Linked DNA regions of Homo sapiens: regions 2 and 3 are each linked to region 1. The links are contacts of gene promoters, found by promoter capture Hi-C in human tissues and cell types (Jung and others, 2019). All regions are on one chromosome and are shown on one strand. The core of a region is centred on a gene start or on the middle of the fragment in contact, and the rest is flanking DNA. Distances in the headings are between cores, read along the strand shown. Region 1 holds the start of MYT1L (myelin transcription factor 1 like). Region 2 overlaps MYT1L (myelin transcription factor 1 like). Region 3 has its middle 38 kb from the start of MYT1L.

Evidence for each region. Contacts are between HindIII fragments. The study calls those that stand out against the background at their distance.
Region 2: a fragment that was not itself captured here is called in contact with the fragment with the promoter of MYT1L in region 1 in 3 of the 25 tissues and cell types used here (bladder, pancreas and small bowel).
Region 3: a fragment that was not itself captured here is called in contact with the fragment with the promoter of MYT1L in region 1 in 1 of the 25 tissues and cell types used here (adrenal gland).

The regions. Positions count from the first base shown.
Region 1 is chr2:2,329,830-2,332,653 of GRCh38, forward strand. MYT1L (myelin transcription factor 1 like) reads right to left here and starts at 1,446. Exons shown (of 25, transcript NM_001303052.2): 1 at 1,138-1,446. The HindIII fragment of the contact is 11,173 bases long and covers 1-2,824 here.
Region 2 is chr2:2,280,999-2,283,822 of GRCh38, forward strand. The region is part of intron 2 of MYT1L (myelin transcription factor 1 like); the gene reads right to left. Among named protein-coding and RNA genes, the nearest start is that of MYT1L-AS1, 37 kb to the right of the region's middle. The HindIII fragment of the contact is 6,870 bases long and covers 1-2,824 here.
Region 3 is chr2:2,367,849-2,370,672 of GRCh38, forward strand. No RefSeq gene overlaps it. Among named protein-coding and RNA genes, the nearest start is that of MYT1L, 38 kb to the left of the region's middle. The HindIII fragment of the contact is 5,646 bases long and covers 1-2,824 here.

The DNA.
Region 1 (2,824 bases), core at 196-2,695:
CATACATGTTCTTTTAGGTCAATCAGAAAAAACAAACTTCCTTTTTTTCTGGAATGTTTCTCTTAGTAGCATTTATAACTTACAATCAACACTTTGGATTCAAAGTTCTTGAGAGGTGAAAACTTATAGGAATGCAATGCTGTTTTTTTTTTTGAAAAGGAATATTTTATAAAACTCTTTTCTTTTAAAAATAATTACATTTTTATCTGTATGGGAGACATGACTTTATTATTTTTAAAGCTACATGACACTAAATGAAGATGAACAATTAGAAAGACCCTCATATGCCAGTAAGGGTGGTTTTGGGATGCTTTGGTCTATGACGTTAATTTTGTTTAGTAGAAAATATAAACATTTGAACAAAAAGGCTCTTATATAAAATAGTTTTACTCTAAGTAACTTAGAAATTATTTAGCTTATATAGCTTTGATGGTACAAGAAATTGTCATGGTTAATACTAAATTCAAAATCTGTTCTCTATATTTTATATAGCTAACTTTCATATAAATATTTACATATATATTTTTGCTTTATTCAGATCTATCTTAAAACTAAAGTGTAGAGTTTAATCTTTTAGTTTATTAATTTAGGTGTTACAAAAAGACATATTTCTGTTATAAATAACATTTTCTTTCATTATTATGAACTTCAAACATTTAAGTTAAATTTAAAAATCTTTATTTGAGTTTCTCCACTTAAACAATATAAATCAACTTTCTTCTTACCATCAGGTAAATTCATCCAAAATAGCTAACATTTTAATTGCCTTTGCATAAAATGATGTGCTTCATTTGTAATGTAAAGTAATCCAGTAAAGTCTCTGGGAAGTTTTTGTTTCAGTATCCTCTTATCCTCCAAACACCATACATGCACCCCGTTTTGTTTTTGTTTCTTTTTTTCTTAATAAACAACATCACAGTTAAGTCATGCAACCTAATACCCATTTTAGTTTAAAGACAGATTTTTTTGTGGATTACAAAGCCTCCAGTCCAGGAACATTTCAGCTACCAGCCATGCTGTAAAAATAACTTTAAAAAGGAGCAGACAATGGAATAGCAGCCTCAGCCCTTGAGCTACGGTAAAACACATCCTGCTCACTAAGTTCCCCGAAAAATTAACCTAACGAACATCACGTACCTCACAATGACCACAACCGCTCACAAGCGAAAGACAAGTTCAATTTTGGTAACTGTGCTGGCTCAAAATACACAGACAGGGAAGAAAACCCTGTTCCACCACAAGTTTGAAAGGATGATGAGACACATGCATGCCACCAAGACGCAGAAAAGGTGGCTTTTTGTCTTCAGTGAGTATGGATATCATAACCCATAGTCCAGGGAATGAAAAAATTAAAATGCACCCACCAACAATGAGCAAAAAACCCGGGGTGCTTCAACAAGACTGCAGGGAAAAGCTCTCTCACTGTTTAGTGTGCAGTAGCTTAGGGAAAAAAAAAATGTCGCCCGGGCAGGAATGACAAATGCAGCGCGATAGGCTCGCAGGCCTCAGGGATCTGTTTGACTTCCACACACCCCCATGCACACGCTCCCACTCATCCTCTCCTAGGCTTTTTTTTTTTTCCACATTTTTTTTTCACAAGCTCCAAATCCCCGGCATATGACCTTCTGTTAAATAGATAAAAAAAAAAATTGCTTATCAGTCATGCAAATGAGGCTGAATTCATTTTCCACAACAGATGGCCTCATAGATAATGATGATGGAAGAGAGAAAATTGAATGTCTCTCACAAGGTGGCCATGGCAACCGAGAGCAGAATAATATCAATAATAAACTCACTGCATAATAAGGTTGTCAGTCCTACAAATCAAAGTCTCCAGCTAAATCAGGTATACCACCCCAGCTAGTTACCAGGTAAATAGTACACACACACACACACACACACACACACACACACACTTCCACAGAGTGGCTTGAAATCTTTCATGGTCACTGTAAAATGTGTACGTGTGTGTGTCTGTTGGTGGCAAGAAGGGGTTGGGGGAGAGAATAGTTGGATAATGAAATGACAATGTGACTTTTTTCTTTTCCTTTCCTTTCATTATGTTTTCTGCAATAGACTCGGTTTCATGCAGGACCTTCTAACTAGCCATATTGAAATCGGGATGCGGTGCTGAAGGCTTTCTCTCCTCCCTCTGCCTCCGCGCTCTCGCTCTGATGTGCTGCATTGATGCAATAGCAGCTCGCCTCAGGCTTCCACCTTGGCTCCCAGGGGGACATCCTGCAAAATGAATCAGCAGCCATCCTGAGCAGGCTGATTAAAATGAAAATGGCAAGGCACATGTCTGGGCGGAACTGGAGCTCAGCTTTGCTGCTTGTCTGGCAAGCATGCTCAATATAGCTCTTGCTAATAATGGCTTACTGCCTTTCATTTTTTAAAAAGGTATCACCCTTTTCCCCCTTCACTGACTGGTGTTGTCTGTGTGTGTGTGTGTGGTGTGTGTGTGTGTGTGCACGTATGTGTGCGTGCATGTCGCGGGGGGAAACGAGAATGGATGGTTCTATTCTTCTAATTTTCTGCTGCTCACATGCAGACTGCCTGCCTGACAGCACCATTATTTTAACACTGAACTTACTTCAGCTTTTCTTTTGGGACAGGGTGGGGGGGCGGTTGATAAGTCTTGGGGCAGAAGGGCTAGTTTTAAAATCAAGCTGCCTAAAAGGCCCAGACAAGATTTTTACACTCCAGATTCAATAATTTCTAACCAAATCTGAAGCAACAGACCTCGAGAGAACTCCGATGCTCTGCTTCACAGGCTCACAGTTGGACATGCTGAAACACAGCCTATGAAGAAACCTATTTCTGT
Region 2 (2,824 bases), core at 229-2,728, 49 kb before region 1:
GGTGATATGGTTTGGCTGTGTCCCCACCCAAATCTCATCTTGAATTGTAGTTCCCATAATCCCCACATGTTGTGGGATGGACCTGGTGGGAGGTAATTGAATCATGGGGGTGGTTACCCCACACCGTTCTCATGTTAGTAAGTAAATTCTCATGAGATCAGATGGCTTTATCAGGGGCTTTCCCTGCTTTGCTCAGCACTTCTCCTTCCTGTGAAGAAGATGCCTTTCTTCAGCTTTGCCTTCTGCCGTGATTGCAAGTTTCCTGAGACCTCCCAAGCCATGCAGAACTGTGAGTCAATTAAACCTCTTTTCTTTATAAATCATCGGGTATTTCTTCATGGCAGTGTGAGAATGAACTAGTACACGTGGCATGACTTTTCATGTCATAACTAGTAATAGTGTGGGGCAAATGACTTTTGTTTTCTTTTTAATATAATTGTTGTGTAATATGTACAGAAGTGGGAAGAGTAAATGCTTGTGTCTTCCTGATTGATTGTAAAATTCTTCCCAACTAGCTCATGTAAGTGGTCAACAACTGAGGCCAAAATGTGTTGCTTTATAGAGATTTAGCAGACTTATATTAATGATCCAATTACCTTGAATGGCGTGAACTTAACTTGTGTATTTAGAAAAACAATAATCAAATATTGAAAATACTGTCATATGAAATAGAAATTAGCCCATAGAACCTAGAACATGTTCTGAACATAGTAGATCATTAAAATACATCCATTAAGTTGAATTGAATTAGACATAGTCTGTATCTCTCCAGAGGCTGAAAGTAAAAACAACAGGTGCCTATTATAAAACTGAATAATATGCAAACCCTTGACACAATCCAACAATGGAATGAGTTGCCTTGTTGAGTTGTAAGCTATCTGTTCCTGGAAATATTCAAGAAGCAATAAAAAGGCTACTTTTTAGCGGTAGGTGGCATGGGGGCAGAAATGTTTCTGTAGTGCACTCTGGCGTTTAGTATAACGAACACAATCCTAGCTTTCTTTAATGGTAGTGGATCTCGAAATTCTCAGAGTTACACATCAGAAACAATAATGGTCGCTATATTAAATTGCTCATACTGAGATCTTATTTTTAAAGTAAATGTATTGTAATGCTTTTCATACCATGTATCAGAGACTCAATATAAGCGTGGATTCTGCAACTAAAAGGTGGACTTCTCAAAATCTGGATCATGTTCTATCATTTACATATCACCACTGCCTCACACAGTGTATTGCACGTAGTAGGCACTTCATACATTGATTTAATATATGAACAAAAGAACAGAAGTGTCAGCTTTTTAACTGAGTTTATGAAAATTTAGAAGATATTTTGAAATACATTTTTAGCCTTTACAAAACTAAATTTGTGCTATGAGATTAGTTTTTTCTTAAGGTTGAATTTATGAATTTATGACACTGCTATGTGTAATGGCAGACCGTTCAAACACTGGATGGTTAGCTGTGTTTTCAATAGCAGAGAACATGCAGTGATAGGACCACACATAAAATGAAGCAGGATTGTAAAGATAATGCCCTTCTCAAAAGCTTCAAAATGTATATAGTCTTGAGTCAAGCAATTCTACTGTGAATTTATCTTAAGAAAATCATTAACAGTGTGAAAGGTTTTAGGTAAAGAATGGTTATTAAAACCATGTTTATAAGGCAAAATTTTAAAAATCCAACTTATGAAATTACAATAGAGAATTGATGAAGTATATTTCAGTGTATTCATAAAGTAGAATGCTAGATGAGGTAACGGAATAAAATAAGGTAACAGAAAAGTAGTTCTTCAGGCTGGGCACAGTGGTTCACACCTGTAATCCCAGCACTTTGGGAAACCGAGGTGGGCAGACCACTTGAGGTCAGGAGTTGGAGACCAGCCTGGCCAACATGGTGAAACCCCGTCTTTACTAAAAATAGAAAAATTAGCCAGGTGTGGTGGCATGTGCCAGTAACCCTAGCCACTTGGGAGGCTGAGGCAGGAGAATACCTTGAACCCCGGAGGGAGAGGTTACGGTGAGCCAAGATTGTGCCACTGCACTCCAGCCTGGGTGACAGAGCCAGACTCCATCCCCCCCAACACAAAAAGTAGTTCTTCATACAGAAAGATACATACGATGCATAAGGGAAAAAGGAGTAAAGAACAAACGGCACAGTTTGACCCATGTTAATTTAAAATCTTTTTGAAGACTGTCAAAGAAATCAGTCTTGAAGAATTTTAAACCAACATACTAATGGTGGTTGTCACTGAATTTTTGAATTTCCAGTGCTTTAAAAATTATATTATCTATTATTTTAATATTCTAATGTTTCTACAATGGACATACACTAATTATGTAAAGAAAATAGAAGTTTAAAAACTTGGTCTCTCTGGCAGTTTGACGTTAATGCAAAGAACGACATTGAGAGGATAAGTTTCTAAAGATATTGACACCAAAAGTAAGAGAGTACAGAGATGATGCCTTGAAAAGTATAATTTTTGAACCATTAAAAATTAGTTGTGTAGCAAATAGAGGACATTGGGTCCAACAGATTGGTTTATTTCTCAGTCTTGCTGGAAATTAAATTTGTAGCACTTCTCAATTCCACCCACTCATAATTGGAAGAGAAAGTGAAGGCCACAGAAGCTGAGAGTCTGCTTCAAAGTCCCCAGGCAGTAAGGGCTGCTCAGACCTCAAACCTACACGTGGTCAGGCAATGCTACTCTTTCATGCAGCTGAAAATTTACACAGTTATGTCCAAGACAGATTTCAAAAGGGATACAAATGATTCCCAAGGATGTGCGTCTATGGAAAAAGGAAACTACAGCCTCAAAATGGGGC
Region 3 (2,824 bases), core at 136-2,635, 38 kb after region 1:
CAGTTCATATAGGAAAAAAAAAAAGAGTAACTTTGTGAAAACCACCTTAGAAAAATAAAGTATATTTAAGAATATTCACAATTATTGACCAAAATTAATGGTACCGTAACAAAAGAAAAATAGTACAATGGTCAGTCTATAAATAGGAAGGCTGTAATGGGGTATAGTCACATAAATCAATTGATGCTAGAGTTGTGTTGGTGTCTCCCAGAACCTGCTGTTTCTAGATCAAACCAGTACAGACAAAAGCAAAACAAATAAACAAACAAACAAGGGCAGGGCTTTTAGATCATGTAGTTTTTTGTTTATAAAAAAATCAAAAAATTATTGGGAAGAAGTAATTATAGGGGAAGAGAGGGAAGCAAAACTACTTCCCTTCACAAAACTTTTGTGAATAAAATTGTCAATTTCTACATCAAACTATTTGTTAAGTATCAGCTGACTTGGTGATCATAGACCATAGGAAAGAAGAAAACAAACAAAAAAATCCCTAAGTAATTACAGACAAAAAGTTATAGACAGGATGTCTGGGCTGCGATGGACCTTTTGGATTTTAGGCTTGAGAGTGAATGAAGCTTACCAGGTTTATGCACCAAGATCTATCTTGTGCTTATTATTAGGGGGTTCAACTCAAGACTTGTCATTTCACAGAGGTCTGAGTCATATACAAACATGAACATCAAAATTTAAAGCAACAACTGAGCTCCCGTGAGTTTAGAGGCTTTGGCTTTGGCCCAATCCTGTGGCTTCTACTCCGCTTTTAAACTATTTTTAACTCTGTTATAAAAGACAGTGCACTAGGAAGCAATGCTGCAAGCGAGGGTCCGCTTAAAATACTAAAGGAAGTGCTAGACATGCCATCTGGAAAATCCAAAGGGCAAAAAGAAAAGAGAGAACGACAAAGGAATGGGAAGTGGGTAGTAGACCTGCAGTACGGAGATGGGACAGGTGGCCAGGGGAATATGGGATGATAAACACCTTCAATCATTGAACTTCTCATAAAGAAAGACACTGTGCTAATAATACATGCAAAAGGAAGTCAGACAAAAGAGAACTTTTTCTCTCTCTCTCTCTCTCCGTCTCTGTCTTTCTCTCTCTCTCTCACACACACACATAACAATACTGTATGTGGCTTGACTTTATGTAGGAAGTAGGTACTCACTGGCAAAGAAATTCTCATTACTGCCATAACGAAATTTTCATGCTTCTGGGATGTATGTGATTCAGACTAGTCTGCAAATTACTTAAATAATTTTACCTATCAACGTTGGGTCTGTCACTCATATAAAGGGAAAGCAAAACCATATCATCTGGTGCACTTTACAGCTCAATGTCACCTGCCATATTTTCAATCATCTTGCATGCACAATTGGCAGTAGGCTATTAGAAGCAACCCTCCAAAAAGAAATCCTATTTTTTATTAAAAAAACTTTATTTTTTAGAGTAGTTTTAGGTTCAGAGCAAAATTGAGAAGCAGATACAGATATAACCCATATACTCTCATCCCCTCCCCATTATCAACGTGTCCCACCAAGAAGGCTCACTTGTTGCTATCAATGAACCCAAATTGACTGAGTCCCAAGTTCACTTTAGGGTTCATTCTTGGTGTTGTACATTCTGTGGGTTTAGACAAATGTATGGTGACATGTACTGACATGTTTGGTTGTGTCCCTACCCAAATCTCATATTGAATTGTAGCTCCCATAATTCCCATGTGTCATGGAAGGGACCCAGTGGGAGGTAACTGAATCATGGGGGCAGGTCTTTACCATGCTGTTCTTGTGGTAGTGAATAAGTCTCACAAGATCTGATGGTTTTATAAAGGGGAGCCTCCCTGCACTCTCCTGTTGCCATGTAAGATGTCTTTGCTCCTCATTCGCCTCCCACCACGTTTGTGAGGCCTCCCCAACCATGTGGAACTGTGGGTCCCTTAAACCTCTTTCCTTTATAAATTACCCAGTCTTGGGTATGTCTTTATTAGCAACATGAGAACAGACTAATACATGTATCCACCATTGTAGTGTCATACTGAATATTTTCACTGCCCTAAAAATTCTTAGCCGTTAACCCAACCCTAAAGAAACACTGAGTGTTTTACTGTCTCCACAGTTTTGCCTTTCCCACAATACTGTATAGTTGGAATGAGATAGTATTGTAGCTTTCTTAGTTGGGCTTCTTTCACTTGGTAATACGCATCTTAGGATCCTCCATGTTTTTTCATGGCTCGACAGCTTATTTCATTTTACTGCTGAATAATATTGCCTTGTCTGGATGCATCACAGTTTGTTTATCCATTCACCTACTGAAGGACGTCTTGGTTGCTTCTAAGTTTTAGAAATTATGAACAAAGCTGCCTTAAATGTCCATGTGCAGCTTTTGTGGGAACATATCCTATCCTATGTTAATTTCATTTTCCTTTGATTTGGGTAAAGTCCTAAGCAAGTAACAAGGCTTTTCACCGAGTCCTGAAGTTTAAAGTAAGCCCCGTGTCAACAGTAGTCTTCTGATTACTAGGCAAACAGCATCACAACCTCCTGATTTTTGATAGGTCGTGAAAACTCAGATGGGTAGCACAAACTTTTTCAAATCTTTCAGAATTTTTTCATACTTCACTGTATTATAACTTGGATCAAATAAAATAACTGTTTGCAATATCAGAAATCAAATATTATTATCTGGAAGGATTCTGGCATTACAATCAGTATTTCAGGTGAACCATAGACCTAGACAAAATATCAGATATAAAAAGATAAAAATCAGTGCCAATAAAGCCATTAAAGCCAAAGTCATATTTTATGTTATTTTGCACACATATGTGAATATA